Linked DNA regions of Homo sapiens: regions 1, 2, 3, 4, 5 and 7 are each linked to region 6. The links are contacts of gene promoters, found by promoter capture Hi-C in blood cells and fetal thymus (Javierre and others, 2016). All regions are on one chromosome and are shown on one strand. The core of a region is centred on a gene start or on the middle of the fragment in contact, and the rest is flanking DNA. Distances in the headings are between cores, read along the strand shown. Region 1 overlaps XPNPEP1 (X-prolyl aminopeptidase 1). Region 2 overlaps RBM20 (RNA binding motif protein 20). Region 3 has its middle 18 kb from the start of DUSP5. Region 4 has its middle 18 kb from the start of SMC3. Region 5 overlaps SMC3 (structural maintenance of chromosomes 3). Region 6 holds the start of MXI1 (MAX interactor 1, dimerization protein). Region 7 overlaps XPNPEP1 (X-prolyl aminopeptidase 1).

The links. The method cuts DNA at HindIII sites, captures the fragments that hold promoters and counts their contacts. A CHiCAGO score of 5 or more calls a contact.
Region 1: a fragment that was not itself captured here is called in contact with the fragment with the promoter of MXI1 in region 6 in 3 of 17 cell types (fetal thymus, activated CD4 T cells and monocytes); the score reaches 7.3 in fetal thymus.
Region 2: a contact is called between a fragment that was not itself captured here and the fragment with the promoter of MXI1 in region 6, in 2 of 17 cell types (M1 macrophages and fetal thymus). The highest score is 5.6, in M1 macrophages.
Region 3: a contact is called between a fragment that was not itself captured here and the fragment with the promoter of MXI1 in region 6, in 1 of 17 cell types (activated CD4 T cells). The highest score is 6.0, in activated CD4 T cells.
Region 4: a fragment that was not itself captured here is called in contact with the fragment with the promoter of MXI1 in region 6 in 12 of 17 cell types (neutrophils, activated CD4 T cells, naive CD8 T cells and 9 more); the score reaches 11.0 in neutrophils.
Region 5: a contact is called between a fragment that was not itself captured here and the fragment with the promoter of MXI1 in region 6, in 10 of 17 cell types (neutrophils, activated CD4 T cells, M1 macrophages and 7 more). The highest score is 10.2, in neutrophils.
Region 7: a contact is called between a fragment that was not itself captured here and the fragment with the promoter of MXI1 in region 6, in 9 of 17 cell types (erythroblasts, megakaryocytes, activated CD4 T cells and 6 more). The highest score is 9.3, in erythroblasts.

What each region holds. Positions count from the first base shown.
Region 1 is chr10:109,876,948-109,879,647 of GRCh38, forward strand. It overlaps XPNPEP1 (X-prolyl aminopeptidase 1), which reads right to left. Exons shown (of 21, transcript NM_020383.4): 13 at 1,053-1,111; 14 at 843-920. Among named protein-coding and RNA genes, the nearest start is that of XPNPEP1, 45 kb to the right of the region's middle. The HindIII fragment of the contact is 6,015 bases long and covers 1-2,700 here.
Region 2 is chr10:110,667,495-110,670,194 of GRCh38, forward strand. The region is part of intron 1 of RBM20 (RNA binding motif protein 20); the gene reads left to right. Among named protein-coding and RNA genes, the nearest start is that of RBM20, 25 kb to the left of the region's middle. The HindIII fragment of the contact is 7,690 bases long and covers 1-2,700 here.
Region 3 is chr10:110,514,171-110,516,870 of GRCh38, forward strand. No RefSeq gene overlaps it. Among named protein-coding and RNA genes, the nearest start is that of DUSP5, 18 kb to the left of the region's middle. The HindIII fragment of the contact is 7,392 bases long and covers 1-2,700 here.
Region 4 is chr10:110,548,304-110,551,003 of GRCh38, forward strand. It overlaps the pseudogene RPL7P35. Among named protein-coding and RNA genes, the nearest start is that of SMC3, 18 kb to the right of the region's middle. The HindIII fragment of the contact is 2,027 bases long and covers 382-2,408 here.
Region 5 is chr10:110,597,421-110,600,120 of GRCh38, forward strand. SMC3 (structural maintenance of chromosomes 3) reads left to right here. Exons shown (of 29, transcript NM_005445.4): 20 at 719-870; 21 at 2,234-2,392. Among named protein-coding and RNA genes, the nearest start is that of SMC3, 31 kb to the left of the region's middle. The HindIII fragment of the contact is 1,728 bases long and covers 533-2,260 here.
Region 6 is chr10:110,206,211-110,208,910 of GRCh38, forward strand. MXI1 (MAX interactor 1, dimerization protein) reads left to right here and starts at 1,395. Exons shown (of 6, transcript NM_130439.3): 1 at 1,395-1,872. The coding sequence starts at 1,599. RefSeq lists a silencer at 1,566-1,645. The HindIII fragment of the contact is 6,685 bases long and covers 1-2,700 here.
Region 7 is chr10:109,895,604-109,898,303 of GRCh38, forward strand. The region is part of intron 3 of XPNPEP1 (X-prolyl aminopeptidase 1); the gene reads right to left. Among named protein-coding and RNA genes, the nearest start is that of XPNPEP1, 27 kb to the right of the region's middle. The HindIII fragment of the contact is 577 bases long and covers 1,148-1,724 here.

The sequences.
Region 1 (2,700 bases), core at 64-2,563, 330 kb before region 6:
ATGGGTTCTTGTAGACCACGTGGTAAAAAAACCACATACTGGGATGCCAGGCTTCAGGCTCAGGGGGACAGGAAGAGAGGGTACTGATTATCTCTCCACCCAAAACAGGTTGCCTCACAACCTACTACTAAGTTTTTTTTTGGTATGGAACTGATGGAGCTCACAAGATGTATGGACTAGTACAAAACAGCTGCTGTTACCAAGAAAGAAAACTACTCAAAAATTCCAGTCATGGGCCAAGCACAGTGGCTCACACCTGTAATTCCAGCACTTTAGGAGGCTGAGGCAGGAGGATTGCTTGAGTCCAGAAATTCGAGACAAGCCTGGGCAACACATCAAGATCCTCATCTCTACAAAAAAATCTAAAAATTAGCCAGGAGTGGTAGCACATGCCTATAGTCCCAGCTACTCAGGAGGCTGAGGCAGGAGGATTGCTTGAGTCTAGGAGTTCAAAGTTGCAGTGAGTTGTGATGGCACCACTGCGCTCCAGCCTGGGCAGCAGAGCAAGACCTTGTCTCCAAAAAAAAAAAAACTTAGTCATCAAGATGCAAGGGCTATGCATACAGTTCCTGCAGCTTCAAAAAGGAAAGAGGGACACCCATCTGACTACCCTGCAGAGAATGCCAGTGCCATACTGAGCCTAAGAAGAGGCTCCCAAAAGGCAGAGGCTTGGGGATTGGGAGAAAATAAAATCTTAGAAGTCTTATTTCCCTTCATTTTACAGTCTCAACAGACAGATGAAGGTGGGCACAGAGGCCTCTGGTAAAATAATGTCTCTCCCCTGCTCAGGCTCCTGTGCAGAAGCAGCAAGGCCAGGCAGCATGCTCCTCCGCATGCCTTACGCGTAGTGAATGATGGCGCCGTTGGGTCCCGTACTGGAAATTGTTGGGAAGCTCAGGTCCACAAAGTCTGCCTGTTGCCTGTAACAGAAAGACAGAAAGCAGAGTGGCTTAAAGGTTTTTACTGTGCTAAGATTCAGGGCCCTTCCAGCCTCATTCAACTAGCAAGAAAATCAGCACGAGGCTCCTGGGTCCCCCCAAATGGATCCTTACCTGCGAAACTCCTCAGCTTTGTCAGCAGCTGAGATCTCTGTCACACCACCTTTGGGAACCTATGAGAAAATTGCTTATAAATCATCTGGTGAGATAAATTCATGTGTGCCTCTTACAAATTAGAGGAGGTACATTAAAAGCTCACTTTTTCCTCAATTGCTTCATCCCAACTGACCAATCTACAGGACACATCTTTAGCAAGGGAGAACTCCCAAAGGCTCTCACCAAAGCTATCTAAAATCCAATAGTTTCTATTCATTTAATTTTTCACTCAACTATTGTGCTTCAGTATTTTATCCTAAAACCTCCCAAAACAACATATCTAAGTTTAAAAATTCAAAAGCATCCCCTCCTAAGAAATCATCGTAAGAAAATCATTCTAGAGAAATAAAAAAGATAAATGCGGAGAGATTATTGCAGGATTACTGATAACAGCAAAAAATTAAAAACAACCCAAACATTTAAAAATAGGAGGACTGGGTTAGTAAATCAGAAGAGCCACTAGATGCAGTTTTCATTTGGATCCTTTTTTAAGGCCTCAATGTACATGGAAAATGTTCACACTATGATTCTAAGAGAATAAAATAAAACACAAAATCATATCTAAGCCAGGTGTGATGGCTCACACCTATAATCCTAGCACTTTGGGAGGCCAAGATAGGTGGATCGCTTGAGCCCAGGAGTTTCAGATCAGCCTGGGCAACATGGCAAAACCTTATCTCTACAAAAAAATCAGAAAAAATCAGGTGGGCTGTAGTCCCAACTAATCGGGAGGCTGAGGTGGGAGGATCACCTGAGCTTGGGGAGGCTGAGGCTGCAGTGAGCTGTGATCACACCACTACTCTCCAGCCTGTGCAACAGATGAGACCCCATCTCAAAATAAGAAAAAAAAAAAGAAAAAAAATTTATCTGCACACTAAGAGACATGTAAAAATAATTTATATTTTTAAAAATAATTTACGGCCAGGCACGGTGGCTCACGCCTGTAATCCCAGCACTTTGGGAGGCCGAGGCGGGCGGATCACAAGGTCAGGAGATCGAGACCATCCTGGCTAACACAGTGAAACCCCGTCTCTACTAAAAATACAAAAAATTAGCCAAGCATGGTGGCGGGCGCCTGTAGTCCCAGCTAGTCGGGAGGCTGAGGCAGGAGAATGGCGTGAACCCAGGAGACGGAGCTTGCAGTGAGCCGAGATCGCTCCACTGCACTCCAGCCTGGGCGATGGAGCAAGGCTCTGTCTCAAAAATAAAAAAAAATAATAAAAATGTAATAATAATAATTTACATAAAGTCCAGGCATGGTGGCTCATGCCTGTAATCCCAGCACTTTGGGAGGCCGAGGTGGGTGGATCACAAGGTCAGGAGTTCAAGACCAGCCTGGCCAAGATGGTGAAACCCCATCTCTACTACAACTACGAAAATTAGCCAGGCGCAGTGGCAGGCGCCTATAATCCCAGCTACTTGGGAGGCTAAGGCAGGAGAATCTCTTGAACCTGGGCAGCAGAGGTTGCAGTGAGCCGAGATCACACCACTGCACTCCAGCCTGGGTGACAGAGTGAGACTCCGTCTCAAAAAATAAAATAAAATAAAATAATAATAATAATTTACATAGATGAACAATCACCAGAAGGAAACATGAGGGAAAAAG
Region 2 (2,700 bases), core at 188-2,687, 460 kb after region 6:
TAAGTAGCTAGATGACTAGAAGCCAGCTTGAACTTTGCCAGCTTTGAGATTGGAAGGAAAAGGTGAAATTGCCTGCTCTTCCTGAAGCAAGCACCACATTTTCTCTCCTTTCTACCTTGTTTGCCTCTTACAGCCAGAACCCAGCCCCCTTTTCATCACTAATCTCGTAACACACAGGGCTTCATCCTGGCAGTGTCGATCTTTTCATTAGCCCTTTAAGAATGACTGGCAAATGCACTTGTTTGAGTCATTTGATCACCTGGGAAGTGTCTGGGAGCCATGCCTTGGAGTGCCTCACTGATCACAAAGCCATCCAGTGTGGCCTTTGATTCCTGGGCCCCTGGTGTCCTGCTCACTTTACCCCCCATGCATGTGACCTGCCCACTTTCTGGGGCTTGGGTGTGAGTGAGTGGTGCAGGGAAGCTAAGCCAGAGGGAGCCCTGATTTACGAACTGTCCGGATTTAACTGAGGCTACAGCACTTTTATTAATAGAACATGCTGCATTTCCTTTTTATAAAAATATGAAGATCACTGCGCTCAGGAAAATGCCTGGTGACTTTCTGTCTTTAGGGCATGTTCATCACCAGGCTAAAATTAAAAGTGAAGTCAGGCCCTTCTTGCATCTATTTTTAACTAAGTTTAGCATATGAATGTGAACGTGAAGTCTTTCTTTAGATCCCCCTAACTCAATTACTGACGTATGCCAAGCATCCCGCCTGGAATTCCAGAGCTGTGTCTGGGGCTACCTTGGGTGGGGAGGCCAAAAGGGAATTAGGGACCACTAGCCTAGCCCCCTGCTATCTGACTGTGTGCGTCTTCACCCATCTCAGCTTCACTTACTTTGGAAGGTTAAGGTGCAGCCAGTCATAATACTGAAAAGCATAAAACAAGGGAAAAACTAACCAAACCAACCAACCTATGGCCATTTTGTGATGCGTAAAGTCTCCCCTAATTGGCACATATTTTTCTAGGGGGCTCCAATTTAGAAGCAGCGACTTGGGTTGAAGGGGAGACACTGGATTATAGGGGAGACCTTGTCATTCAAGCAGAAATTGCGAATGGCCCCAACATACCAAGGGAGACTTGGGACAACAGGTGGAGGGAGGGAGAGGAAAAAAAAAACTGAACAAGTGTCGTTCCTGCCCAGAGAGTTTGCGATGAGTGATGAGAGTGCCAGAGAAACCTTTTAGAAACCCTCTTAAATTCCCTCTTTGAAATCTTTTTCATGTCTGCTCTTTGAGGACTGTGAAGAGAGGGGAGGGTAGAGGCAGAGTTGATCCCAACTCTTAAGATTCTTTGGCCTAATGTTTCACTTGAAGGCAGAGACTGACGAAGTTCTTTTTTGAACTTCTTAGGACAGTTCCCTGTGGTTACTTTTTTAGTATAACAATTAAAAAAAAAAAAACCAAAAAACCTACTGATCATTTTAAGTCCTGGCCCTTGCTTTGTTTTGTTTGAAAAGTGACTTTTAAAATGGTGACTTTTATGGAAAACATATTTACAGTTTGTTAAAGTTGTGTCATTTCTCTTTGCATGTTTACATGTATGTGTATTTAACTTAGTTGTCTTGAACCTCATAAAGGTGTTGTGGTTTTTAAGCAGAGGAAAATCTTCCTTCGTTTTTTCTGGAATAGCAGCAAAGCCATGATGGAGAATAAGCAGAAGATTAATTTAAAATACTGGTTACTTTGGCTAATCCACTGACGGTGAGCTTGCTTATGGCTGGAGAACTATGAAAGTGTTTCCAGATAGCCTGAGAGGGAAGCACTGGGAAGGAGTGTGGCAAGTCTGTATGCGTGTGGCGGGGTAGGGGGGACAGGGTTGTCTTTTGGGGAATAGGAATGATATTTAAACGACCAGCTCCTCCATGTATTATTTGGATTTTCTGTTAAAAGCAATAAACTTGAAGTAAGACGTGTTTACAGGCCACTACAATCTATCTGAAAAGCCTCTTATGGTTTTTTGCCTCCCATTCAAAAACCACTTACGTGATTGTATGTGCCTTTCAACAAAACTTTGGATTCAATTACAACACTTGTAGGCTCAGAAGATTGCTTTCAAATCTGAAAACTTTGCACCTTCACTTGGTTACAGTACTTTTTAAAAAATGGAGATACGGTCTTGCTGTGTTGCTCAGACTGGTGTCCAAACCCTGGGCTCAAGCGGTCCTCCAGCTTTGGCCTCCCAAAGTGTTGGGATTACAGGCATGAGCCACTGTATCTGGCCTGGTTGTAGTACATTTCAAGGGACTGGCTTTCCCAGCCAAACTGACATTTTTGGGTCTGTCCAGTTAGTAAAAGGTAGGGATTGGGGTGGCAAGAGTTGTACATTGACACAGTTCTTAAGCACACAGTGACTAAAAGGTACTCTACTGGCTTTTGGAGAAGGCTTAGAACTTGGTCAATCGACAAACTCCTGATTAAAGGTTGCTGAATTAAAAATAATATGCCATTTCTTTGAAACCATTCGATTTCACCCTATTTAGTTGTTCCAGAAATGTTTGCTTTGGTTTTAACCATGACCCAACTTTATTTAGTAAGTCTAATAATTCATCTCTTTGAAACCTTTTAGTTTCCACCTTATTTTTTTTTTGAAGAGTGATTTTTTTAGATGGTGATTTTTGTGTGAAATAATATTTACAGTTTGTTAAAGTGGTATCATCTCTCTTTGCACGTTTACATGAATGTGTATTCAATGCA
Region 3 (2,700 bases), core at 198-2,697, 310 kb after region 6:
ATGGCCCCACCCTCATGGGTCCATGAGTACTGATGACTGTTCACTGGCTTTCTGTCCCTGCCTGGAGCCGACCTCCTTAGTTGGACCAATGTCGTTAGCCCCACACAATCCCCTTCTCCAGCTCCCCTCTTCTAGGCTCTAGCTTCATCTTCTATCTGTGGTTCAGCACAACCTTGTACCCAAGCTCCTCAGATTTGCCAGCCTGTGGTTATGGCTGTGTTACTGTGCCAGCAATCCACACCCTACTCAGCCCACCCCTTAGTCTCTCTTGCATTGTTCATTAATTTTTTTTTTTTTTTTTTTTTTTTTTTTTTTTTTTTTTTTTTTTTTAGAGGGAGTCTTGCCCTGTCGCCCAGGCTGGAGCGCAGTGGCCCCATCTCAGCTCACTGCAACCTCCACCTCCTGGGTTCAAGCAATTCTCCTGCCTCAGCCTCCCAAGTAGCTGGGATTACAGGCATGTGCCACCATGCCCGGCTGATTTTTGTATTTTTAGTAGAGACAAGGTTTTACCATGTTGGCCAGGCTGGTCTTGAACTCCTGACCTTGTGATCCACCCTCCTCAGCCTCCCAAAGTGCTGGGATTACAGGCGTGAGCCACTGCGCCTGCCTATAAATGTTTTTATATCTCATTTTTACAGATGCACAAACTGAACCTCAGAAATATTAAGTAACTTGCCCAAAGTCACACAGTTAGCAAAAGGTAGAGCTCGAATGAAGCTATTTCATTGATCTTGTACCCCTCTGAACACCTGGGGTATATAATAGGTACTTCTGTCCATTGGGCTTTTGTTTGCAAGGAAGTCTCCTCAGTCTACTTTAAGGAAAAGTGTTTGTGGATAAATGCAAATAGCACTGAATCCCCAGTTATATTCCATTCCAGCCACATTGGCTTTCTGACAATCCCTTAAACATGCCAACATCCCTCCTGCCTCAGGACCTTTGCACATGCTGGTCCCTCTGACTGGAATCTTTCTCCTATAAATTCCCCCTCCAACCGATTAACTCATACTGGTTTTTCGCCTCTCAGTTCAAAATTCACCTTGCCAGGAAAGCCCTCCCAGACTAGGTCAGATGTCCCTATTGGCTCTCATAGTCTTCTATATCTTTTCTTCGTATTTCATCAAAGTTTAAAAATTTTTCATTTCTCTGTGATTATTTTATTAACGTCATCTCCTTCAGACTAGAAACACCGGGAGAACAGAGATTACATTGCATTTCAAGAGTAACCAAGGACAGGGTCTGACTTATCCTAGGTATTCAATGAGTACTGGTTGAGTGAAGGAGTGAAGAAGTGACAAACAGAATGAAACGCTGGTCAGAAGCAGAAGCTGTTCTCTCCGTTTCTCTCAGAGCCCCTATGACCCTCCAAACGTGAGTTTCTTTATCCTGGACCTATTTGCCAGTTCCTCCCCAATCCTGGAGGAAGCAGATTCCCAGCCTTAGCTAATTACTGCTACCTTATTGGTCAGAGGCCATGGTACCCCCTCACCTCGTTGGTCACTGGTCAGCCTACGGCTGGGCTGCCCTTGGGTCAGATGCCCACCCTGGGATCAATCGGTTTCCTCTAAGTTCAGAGACCTGCCTCGCTCAGACTCTGAGACTTGAGCGTTCCATAAGAAGTCCCCAGAAAACTGCCATAAAGAAAAACCCTACCGATCACTTGAGCCCAGGAGGTTGAGGCTGCAGTGAACCATGATCACACAACTGCACTCTAACCTGGGCGATAGAGCGAGGCCTTGTCTCAAAATAAATAATAAAACAACCCTTCCCTGCTTGCCCCAAAGTGATCAATTGTGGTAACTAAATTTTATTTTGTTTTCTTTTTTTATTTTTTATGGTTTTTTTTTTTTTTTTTTTTGAGACGGAGTCTCGCTGTCGCCCAGGCTGGAGTGCAGTGGCGCAATCTCGGCTCACTGCAGGCTCCGCCCCCTGGGGTTCACGCCATTCTCCTGCCTCAGCCTCCCGAGTAGCTGGGACTACAGGCGCCCGCCACCTCGCCCGGCTAATTTTTTGTATTTTTAGTAGAGACAGGGTTTCACCGTGTTAGCCAGGATGGTCTCGATCTCCTGACCTTGTGATCCGCCCGCCTCGGCCTCCCAAAGTGCTGGGATTACAGGCGTGAGCCACCGCGCCCGGCCTTTATGTATTTATTTTTGAGATGGAGTCCTGCTCTGTCATCCAGGCTGGAGTGCAGTGACACAATCTTGGCTGACTGCAGCCTCCGCCTCCCGGGTTCAGGTGATTCTCATGCCTCAGCCTCCCCCAGTAGCTGGGATTACAGGCGTGTAGCACCATGCCTGGCCTTTTTTTTTTTTTTTTTCGGTATTTTTAGTAGAGACGAGGTTTCACCATGTTAGCCAGTCTGGTCTCGAACTCCTGACCTCAAGTGATCCACCTGCCTTGGCCTCCCAAAGTGCTGGGATTACAGGTGTGAGCCACTGTGCCCGGCCATGGTAACTGAAATTTAAATCCTGGTTCATTTGTACTAGTAGGTCCGATCCCTTCCCACTATTCCATCACCCATCCCCAGTACACACCCGTTCACTTACGAAGTTTACAGAAACCAAGAAGCCACCAAACAGGGGCTTAAAGCAGGCCCTTGAAGTATCTGTGCATTTTTCATTCTGGGCTTCTTCCAGAGGTGAGGAGAAAATGTTTTGGTTAAAAGGAACTAACCTCCCAAATGGTGAAGCCTCATAT
Region 4 (2,700 bases), core at 145-2,644, 340 kb after region 6:
GTCTCACAGAGCTTTGTTAACGGGAAAGGAAAAAGAGATTTTAAGACAATTTTAGGAAGCTCAGGATTTCCATCTTTCACTTTTATTCAAAATGAAGCAAATGATTCTGTATTTTCAAAATTCGTCAATTATTCAATTGCCAGTTCCAACAGTTTATCCTGTAGAGTTAAATTGTCTTTCAATGAAAGCAACAGATTATGGATCTATGAATTTCCCATGCACGAATCTTCTTTTGATGGAAATAAAATGTAAATGTCCCATAACTTGTTTGACCATAACATTTTACAGATATGCAATATCAAGATTATCACTAACATCACTGATAATTGTTGCTAAACTATGGGGCATGTTGTAACAGTCTCTGGATATTCTGTTCTTCCAAGCTTCTGTCATTTTTGCCCTTCAATCTTCTTTGCCATTGAAAATCATGCTGCATTTTTTCTCCCTGCTTAGAAGTAGTAAAAGCATTTAAAATGCCAAAAATATCACACAAAGAAGCATGCCTATTGTCCCAAACCACATTGGGACCTTATAAAGATGTTTGTTTTACTTTCTAGGAACACTAAGAGTTTGTTTCACAGTCAAACATTCCTAATAGTACTTTTCTCTTCAGTAAGCATCGTATCTCACCTACAACAGTTGTTTATGATCAGCTTCCATATGAACACATATTATAATAAAGAGAATAATCTCGAATTTCATGCATTATCCTTTGCATAACTATTTTTTTGCTATGTAACTACACAACTAGACACTGTTTAATTCAGCTAACATTTTTTCATTGTAAAACTTTCCTGATTAAAAAAAGCAGTGCATTGATTTACATTCTTCAAACTTAGTATGCTTTTCTGTCAATGAAGCTGCACATTAAAGCATCTTCCTACAGCAGTCTTAAACCACATTCCTTGACAGTGTAATCCTTTATAGTTTTATACATTTAGGACTAGTTGTGCTTGTCATCAATGAAACTGAAAAAAATTCTTCCACTATGTTTGAATTGCATATATACTACATTAATTGTCATTTTAGCAGTATGTGGGCATTCAATAACTTGCAATGAAAACGACTTTGCTAGCCGTGTATCTGTGAGTTAATCTGCCATGTCATTAGCTAGTTACTGAATTCGTCTAGTTATGAAAAACGACATTTGAGTTACTTTATTTGCCACAGTCACCCATAATTTCAAAGATCTTTGATACAGTCTTGTGCTAAAGTCTTCTTTTTTAAATTTTCGCATCCCCAAATGCTGCTTTATAAGATGCTCATACATTACTAATGTTTATATGTGAAATATTGAACATCTGTTCTTATGAGTTTTTTAAATTCAACATTCTTTCAAGGTATTCTTTAGGTTTTGAATTTACTTCTTTTGTTTTCTATGTAAATGCTACATAAGGTTGATGGTCTTATGAGCTTTATTAGCTAGCATATCTCTACAAATAACATACTATAGTTTTAGAATATTAGTGTCAATTATGGCTACAAAACTGAACTCAATATGTGAGGAATTATACTTCTGAGTAAAACTAGTACAAACTCTTTTCGTAGTAGTTTAATTTCCTTGGAATCACTTCCATAGACATCATCTGTTTTACTATTGGTGCTGCTGTGCATTAGCAAAGGTGTGTCTTTTCTTGATGAAAACAAGTCTAGTGAAGTTTGCTTTGTCACCTCTAAATTACAGTTAAAAATTATTATGAAAGTCTGCTTCCTAATTTAGCTAATATTTTTGTTATTTATTTTTTCAATTTGAAAGCAATCACTGTTTATTAACTGATCAGATTACAGAAATAATTGTGGCACACACCATAGTTCATCCTTCTAAGGAGCTTTTTGATCTGGTTGTCCCTGTTGCCAGCATCTCCACCTTCTACAAAATAGGTGGTCTTTTCCTTCATTCCTCCTCATGGAGAAGATAATTTGAAAGGCCTGAGGAAGTTATTTGCTTCTTTGAAGCATTTTCCAACAGCACAGACCTCATGAATCAGATCCTCTGCACAGATGATTCCATATTTACCAAGAGATCAAGCCATCAAAGTGTTATCTGTCAAGACAATTTGCTTCATATTGATTTTGCTGTAACCACACTTGGAGACTAGTTCATTTACTGAATTCAGGTTCGGAGACTCTCATGCAATATATGGTTCTACAATCCTCAGCATGTAAATTGAAGCACTGTTGAACTTAACAAAGTTTCTGATGAAGATCTGACAAGGCAAAGAAGCTGCCACACCTTTCGGACCCTTGGGCTGCCACCACTGAGACCTCTGATCCTAATGATCAATGCCAATTTGGGTTCTGCAGGTACACAGAAGTTGCCAGCTTTTCTTGCCATTCTAGCCATTCATATCTCAGTTCTATACATCTGTCTATATTCCTAGTGATAGTGTTTAGCTTCTTCATAGATAAGCTTCCTTCCTTCCTTTCGAAGCATCCTTTGGGCAAACTTTTTTCTCTGGCACTTGATCTTCAGCTCTGCAAAATGCCTTCACTTTTACTTAAAGGTTTCTGGCACAGCAGGAGCCTTCTTTTTCTTCTCTTCAACACTCTCCCTGGTTCCACCCAGAAAACTGAAGATTTTAAAATTATAAACTAAAAAAAATTAGTTTTTACAAAAACATTATATGTAATAAGTAAAAACAACAAAATATCAAAAGAAATAAATGCTTTTGTTTTCTCAGATTTTTACATGCCTTTGGC
Region 5 (2,700 bases), core at 147-2,646, 390 kb after region 6:
TTGAAAAATATAGGTACTTGAGCATCAAGAATAGATATAAAGTTAATGATTTTTAACTGCTTCAGGTGAAACTGGAATTTTTTTAAAACTGCAGATTTATAACTTCTGTGCCATCAGTGCAAGCACAGAAAAAGAAAAATAAGCACCTGAGCTTTGACCTTGCAGGGGTCTGCATATCGCACTTTAAAGAACTGCCTGAATTTGGCAAGATGTTAACACAAAGAGCGTATGGGGAAATACTGAGGAAAAGGAGGATGTTGACAGTGTATACCAGCTGTCTTCCTGTGTTTGATAATCCAGCTAGATTGAATTATTCCACACATGGCAAGAACTCTTCATACATAAACCCTTAACATAGTGCCTTAAGCATAGTAACAGTAAACATTTGTTGAATGAAAAGATATTTAAAAGTATGTAATATTGTTAGATTTCACCTAACCTCCTTTATGGTTTTCCAAGAATTTGTTTTGTATAACTTTTAGTAAAACAGTATACATGTTATTCTGAGAGTGAAATGGGGTGAAATGTTTCAAGCTTCTTTATGATTGAATGCATTTTGGGTAATATAGTTCAGCATTGTTTTGGTCCATAAATTTGAGGACATAAATGTTATTTGGGGGTAAAGAAAAGGAAGGGATACATGGTGTTGTGTCTAAAAAGAATTAAGAACATACGATATATTTACAACCTGGAGATAATTTTCCTTAGCCTTGTATATGGATTAATAATGAAATTGATCAGTTGATGAACCAAATGCAACAGATCGAGACCCAGCAAAGGAAATTTAAAGCATCTAGAGATAGCATATTATCAGAAATGAAGATGCTAAAAGAGAAGAGGCAGCAGTCAGAGAAAACCTTCATGCCTAAGGTTCGTAAGTATATCTTTGGTTATAGATCGATTGTTACAGATTAATAATATGGAAATATGAATCATACATTATATGGGTTATCCTTGAATTTTATGTTTCATTTTTGTTTGGACCCATACTTTTTTTTTTTGAAGACAGAGTCTCTTTCTGTCTCACCCAGGCTGGAGTGCAGTGGTGCGTTCTCAGCTCACTGCAGCCTCCACCTCCTGGGTTCAAGCGATTTTCCTGTCTCAGCCTCCTGAGTAGCTGGGACTACAGACATACGCCACCACATCCGGCTAATTTTGTGTTTTTAGTAGACATGGGGTTTCACCATGTTGTCCAGGCTTGTCTCAAACTCCTGACCTCAGATGATCCACCTGCCTTGCCCTCCCGAAGTGCTGGGATTACAAGTGTGAGCCACTGTGCCCAGGCTAGACCCATACTTTTGGATATCTACATCTATTTTACCATTCTTAAACCCATGGATACCCAAAGTCTCCTATTGTTGGCACGTTCAAACTTTCCACCTTCATTGAACAAATAGGCATTTGAAGCTGTGACATAAGAGTACTGTCTGATGGTCAGTTTTTGTCAGTAACCATTTTTATCTGAAGCACAATGGAATTAGTTGAATATTTGATTCCGTTTTGTCCAGATTGTATTAAAATTAGAAAGCAAACTTATAAGTGATAGTGTGTTATTGGTCTCATAAACTTGACAGTTTTGACAAATCTTTTACTTAGTATAATACTAAAACTACAAAGAGCTTAAAAAAAAAAAAAAAGATGTGCCTACAGTTGTACCATCCCAACCATATTCTGACAACTTTTTATTTTTTGAGGGGGATGGAGTCTCGCCCTATCGCCCAGGCTGGAGTGCAATGGCGTGATCTCGGCTTACTGCAACCTCCACTTCCTGGGTTCAAGCAATTCTCCTGCCTCGGCCTCCAGAGTAGCTGGGATTGCAGGCGTGTGCCTCCACACCCAGCTAATTTTTGTATTTTCAGTATAGACGGGTTTCACCATGTTGGCCAGGCTCGTCTCGAACTCCTGACCTCGTGATCCACCCACCTTGGCCTCCCAAAGTGCTGGGGTTACAGGCGTGAGCCACTGCGCCCGGCAACTTTTTGTTCTTATAATATGCCTGAAGATTTTTGTATAGTTTAATCATGGAATATGATCTGCCCCACCCTGCCCCACCTATACTATTACATCATATTTTTCTTGTTGCTAGAGTCCTAATTACCAAATTAATAGGCACCTAATATTTGAGTTGATATGTCTATATATTTAGCTCAATCAAATATAGATTGTTTTAAAATTTTCACTATAAGTAATACAGTGGCTAATACCTTACTAATAAATGGATAATGTCATATAGCAACGTAGCTTACAGAGTTTGGAGGCAAGCTTGCATGCTATGGAGTCTACCAGAGAGTCATTGAAAGCAGAACTGGGAACTGATTTGCTTTCTCAACTGAGTTTGGAAGATCAGAAGAGAGTAGATGCACTGAATGATGAGATTCGTCAACTTCAGCAGGTAAGTAGACAGCTGACTGGAAAAAGAATTCGTTAGTAATTGGCTATTGTGAAAAGGGCCTTTCTTGCTAACTAGGGCAATATGAAAGAAAAGAACTGAGAAAATATTAAAATGAGGCTTGGACTTTTAATATACATAGGAGTAAATAAGATTTTGTTTTTCTAAACCAATCTAGCTAGGTTAGGATTATACAAGAAATTTTCATTTCCTTAAAATTTAGTTAATTAGCATTACTTATTAGTTGTAAGTATTGCTATGAGTTTGAGCTTGTTAGCCTTACCATATTTATCTTACTGCCTTTACATATT
Region 6 (2,700 bases), core at 145-2,644:
CTCAGGTGATCTGCCCGCTTTGGCCTCCCAAAGTGCTGGGATTACAGGCGTGAGCCACTGCGTCCGGCCATCAAGAGTTTTTATGACAATGTGTATGAAGCTGCCTTTGAGTAGGGTGGCTGCATCGCACACCTCCAGGGGGCAGCATTGTCTTTGTCCTCTATATAAATGGTTCCCCTGGAGGAAAACTCCAGGTGACCTTGCAAAGTAACCATATTTAGATGGGCTTGTCATAGAGATATTTTCCAAGGAAGTGCAGAAGAGTCTTGTTCACTACATCTTGTTCCTTTCTTAGATACAAGTTACATCAGAATAGGGGACTCAGGCTCTTGCCTGGGTCTGGATTGGAAGAAAAAGAGCTTACCATGGGCCAGAGTGTGCTAAGTCAGATACAATACACAAGCATCTTATCACACATTTCAATGATGTGGAAACTTAGGCCAAGAGAGGTTAAGGGACTTGTCCAAGCTCACACAGTCTGTATGCAGCAGAGCTGGGATTTGAACCCTTTCCTATGGCACCCTAGAGCAGCCTTCAATCATCCCCTGACACCTCCAGTACTTCCCAGGGCTGGAAAGCATCCATGATTGCGGACAGCAGTGGCAGTGAAACAATGTCAGCTGGGGTAGGGGTTTTCAGAGGCAAAAGGTGGAATTCAGCTGGGGAGGGGGGTGGTTCCTGAGCTGCCACTTCTGCCTCTCAAATTAAAGGGAGCCAGGTGTGGAGGCATCCTGGTGTGAGCTTTGCACAGCTGAACCAAGGCTGGGCAGAGGAGTGTGGAGAGGGATGCTGACATCTCCTCCCACTTCTGGAAAATAACTTTGCATTTGAAGGGAGAAAGGCATGAGTAAATCTGTAACTCGGATTTGGACGGCCTGGGATTTCATTTGACTGTGTGAAGGCACACACAGGTGCCTCGCAAGTGTGTGCGTGATTACGTATGTATGTGTGTCTGTGAGTAGGAGTGTTTGTGTTGGGGGTGGGGGGATCTTCTGGTTACACACTGGTTCCCTTCTTCCCATTTGGATTGGGGAGCTTTTATTTATTTATTTTTAAGTCATAGCAGCCACCATGTATGGGGACCTAACTATGTGCCAGGCATTGTGCTGGACACTTTCTGAGGCATTATTTTTCTGTGAAAAAAGTAGTTTGTTTTTATGCAGGTGCACCCAGAGACATCAGGTATTTTTTTCCATTCCGGTTAAAAGACAGTGTTCTACTCTGTGGTAAGCCTTGGGGAGAGGCAGGGAAGCCTGCGGGGACGGGCAGGGGCGGTCCCTGCCTCGCTCGCTAGTCTCCACCTTTTATTTTGACCGGTCCGATGGCGACAGGCTCGCACTAGGACCCAGGCGCCAGAGTGCCTCCGTCTGTCCTGTAGGTTCATTCAATCTCCCATACACACAGACTCACAGCGAGACCGACACACACTCCCATACACTCACACACACAACTGCAGGCAGCGAGGCTCGGGAAGTCAGGCCGGCTTTTCGCCCCGGCGCCTTCTCTGCTCCAGCCGGCCGGGTCTCCCTGGGGGCCCGGAGCTCGGCCGGGCCGCGCAGCCCCGTTAGAGGACGAGCTCGGCGGACCCCCGCTCCTCCATGGGCAAACGCGGGCGGCCGCGCAAGGAGGCGCGCTGCGAGGGCGCGGGGCTGGCCCCCGCCGCGCCCCCGGCTGTGCCCCCCGCCGTGGCCGCGCCCCAGCCCCCGGCCCTGCCCGAGGACCCCGCTGGGGCCAAGCCCAGGTGCCCCTTCTCAGACATTTTCAACACCAGCGAGAACTCGATGGAGAAGCACATCAACACTTTTCTGCAGAACGTGCAGATTCTGCTCGAGGCCGCCAGCTACCTGGAGCAGATCGAGAAAGAAAACAAAAGTAAGTTTGGGGGCCCCTGCTCTTCCTCGGCGCCCGGTTCTTTCTTTCTCGCCCACTTGGGCGACCCCTGTTGCGAGCTCGGCCCGTCCCCCCCCCGCCCAACATACACATCCAGCCCTTGGCAGTAAAGCCGATGACACCGGAGAAAGGACACGCACGCACAAAGCTGCTAAAGATGTAACAAAGACGGGCGAGGGGGAGAGGGGCCTGTCGGTGCGTCGGTCTGTCCTCTCCGGCGGGCTGGGGCTGGGAGGATGGCCCAGCGGAGGAGCGGGGGAGTGTTGTTGTTTGCTGACAACTGAGCCGAGAGCTCATCTCTTTGAGGTCGCTTTTCTTCCTTTTTTTTTTTTTTTTTTCCGGAGCCTTCTCAGGCAGACAAGTGTTGTTTTTCTGTTGCTCGTTCCTGGGTGGGGTGGGGATTAGAAGCCGAAAGTTGGAAACCATAGGCAGAGCTCAGAGGTTCCAGAAAGAAAACACACAGACACACACTACAACAATAACAACCAAACAGCTCTCCACGGCGTGGGCTCGGCTCTGTCTCTCTCTCTCCCTCCTACTTCGCCTTTTTCCTTCCCTCTAGCAGCAGGACTGGGCTCAGGCCATCACGTCTACGGACACAGTCCCCCTGCACGTCCGTTGCCGTGGGGTGCCACCGCCGCCCCCCCCCCCCCAAAGAAGGAGGCCGGCGGGGCCAAGCAACGCCAGCAGCTCGCCCCGGACACGCCGTCCTGAGCCCGGGAAACTTGGCCGTGGGGACGCGGCTAGAAGGAAACTTTGGGATCTTTGAGAAACAATAGTTGGGGAAGAAGGTGTGGGCTGTTCTGTGCT
Region 7 (2,700 bases), core at 186-2,685, 310 kb before region 6:
TGGGCCCAGGGCTGTCACTCTCCTTCTCCCAGGCATGAAGCTGGCAACGCCCAGGGGCGGTCTCCTTAGAACACAGCATAGGGCCTAAAATAAACCAAAGCTGTAGCATGCTAGGAAAAAGGCACAAAGAAGCACAGCTGCTGGCTTTTTCTCAAAACCACCCACTTCTCTCCATTTCTAATAGCAGCACTCAGTCCAAGCCTCCATCATCTCTACCTGGACTACCGCCCCTACAATCCACTCTGCACATACACTCAGAGTGAGCTTTTCCAAATATCTAAGATCATGTTAGCAACCTCCTTAAAACCCTCCAATGGCTTCCTATTATATTTAAGATAAAATCCAAACTCTGGCCCAGTCAAGGTACCAGCTGATCTGACTTTGCCAGTCCTCTTGCAGCTCTGCTCCCATTCACCATGCTCCAGACACACCCACCTCCTTTCTGCTCTTTGCATATCCTGAGCTCATTCCTGCCTCAAGGCCTTGGCACATGTGCTTCCTTGTGCCTATAAAAGTATTTCTGATCATGGTATGGCTAGGTCCTTCTCATCATTACATTTGAGATCAAATATCACCTCTACAGAGAGGCCTACCTGTACTACCCAGCTATAATAGCCACCTGGCCACTTTTAAGTCTCTGTATAGCACACACATACTCTAGATATTTGTCTTTTTTTTTTTTTTTTTCTTTTGGAGACAGGATCGCCTTCTGTTACCCTAGCTAGAGTGTGGTGACACAATTATGGCTCATTGTATCCTTGACCTGTCAGGTTCAAGCAATCCTCCCACCTCAATCTTCTCAATAGCTGGGACTACAGCAGGCACACACCTTTTTTTTTTTTTTTTTTGTAGAAACGGGGTTTTACCACGTTGCCAGGCTGGCCTTGAACTTCTGGGCTCAAGTGATCAGCCTGCCTCAGCCTCCCAAAGTGCTAGGATTACAGGCAAGAGCCACCATGCTGGGCAATGTTTCTCTTCTTAATGAACTTTTTATATGTTTATTGTCTTGTTCCTCAACCCCCATCTTAACCCCAAGCATATAAGTTCCATGAGATCAGGGTATCTGTCCTGTCCCTGCACTCAGCACAGGTGACTAGATCCTCAACCCACATTTGTATTATAAATGAACAAGCAGAAAGAGACATGAAGCTTTTCCCTACATCCAGTTAAAACCTCAACCATATCTACGAAGATGGACGAAGGGACCATGAGCCAAGGAATGCAGGTGGCCTCCAGAAACTGGAAAAGGCAAGGAAATGGACTCTCCCTGGAGCCTGCAGAAGTAACATAGCCCTGCTGACCCATTTTAGACTTCAGACTTCCAGAACCATAAGAGAATAAATTTGTTTTAAGTCACTGTGGTAATTTGTTATAGCAGTGATAGGAAACTAATACATTATCTAATGGGGAAAAGATCGTAAGGGATTATAAATGGGGTTTCAAATTCAAATACCTCAGGGTACAGGACAAAGGATATCTTTTCTAAAGACAGCAGCTCCTACTCAGCTCTGATTTCTGAAATGCAGGCCACATGTTGCTAACCTTCAATATTTCAGAAGAAGCCAGAAATATGGGTTCATGAGAAATTACCCAATTTTTAAATGTTGGCATCTAATTCCAACAATATAAACAATACATAGCCAAATAAAGCATCTGTAAACTACAAAAAAAAAAAAAGCTAGTCATCTCTCAAAAATCTGGTTCAAGTGCTCCCTTTTCCATGAAGCTTCCTGACCCACTTCAGCTTTCAGAGGCTCCCACATTTCTGAATTTTACAGGACCATCCATGTTGGCACTTATCCATACCCTACCTTGGATAATGCTGACAAATAATGTTAGCTAAGATTATTTAGTCTGTATTGTTTATTATTGTCTCAACACCTACTAGTCAATAACTGTATTCATTTCCTCTCATTCTAATCCTCACAGCAGCCCTGGAAGGTATCATCCCTCGCTAATCTACAGATGAAAAAAATGAAGCTTAGAGAAATAACTAACTTCCCCAAGGTAACACCACAGTAAATGGCAGAACCAAGATCTGAACTCAGGTCTGACTTTTTTTTTTTTTAAGATGGGGTCTTGCTTTGTCGCCTGGGCTGGAGTGCAGTGGCGCAATCTAGGCTCACTACAACCTCCACCTCCCAGGTTCACGCGATTCTCATGCCTCAGTCTCCCAAGTAGCTGGGATTACAGGCGCCCACCACCACACCCAGCTAATTTTGGTATTTTTAGTAGAGACAGGGTTTTGCCATGTTGGTCAGGCTGGTCTCGAACTCCTGACCTCAAGTGATCCGCCTGCCTCGACCTCCCAAAGTGCTGGGATTATGGACATGAGCCACTGCACCCAGCCTCAGGTCTGACTTTCGAAAGCCCATACCCTTGCAAGCTGCCAAGCAACCTCTTCTACTTTTGTACAGAAGTTGTACACATCTAGTCTCACAATTGGATTATAAATTCTGAGGGAACAAGGAATACGAGGTGTATGCTGCACTTACCTCTACTTTCATCAGCCACAGAATAGACATCTCCTACAACCAGCAGTTAGAACTCTGTTCAAGCCTGGTTCCCCACTTACTAGCTGGGTGAACCTGGGGCTCAACTTCCTCATCTGTAAAATGGGGATGAACATAATGCCCACCTTGAAGGGTTGAGGTGTGACATAAAGCAATTAGCGCATGCCGAACATCTGATGAACTGCAG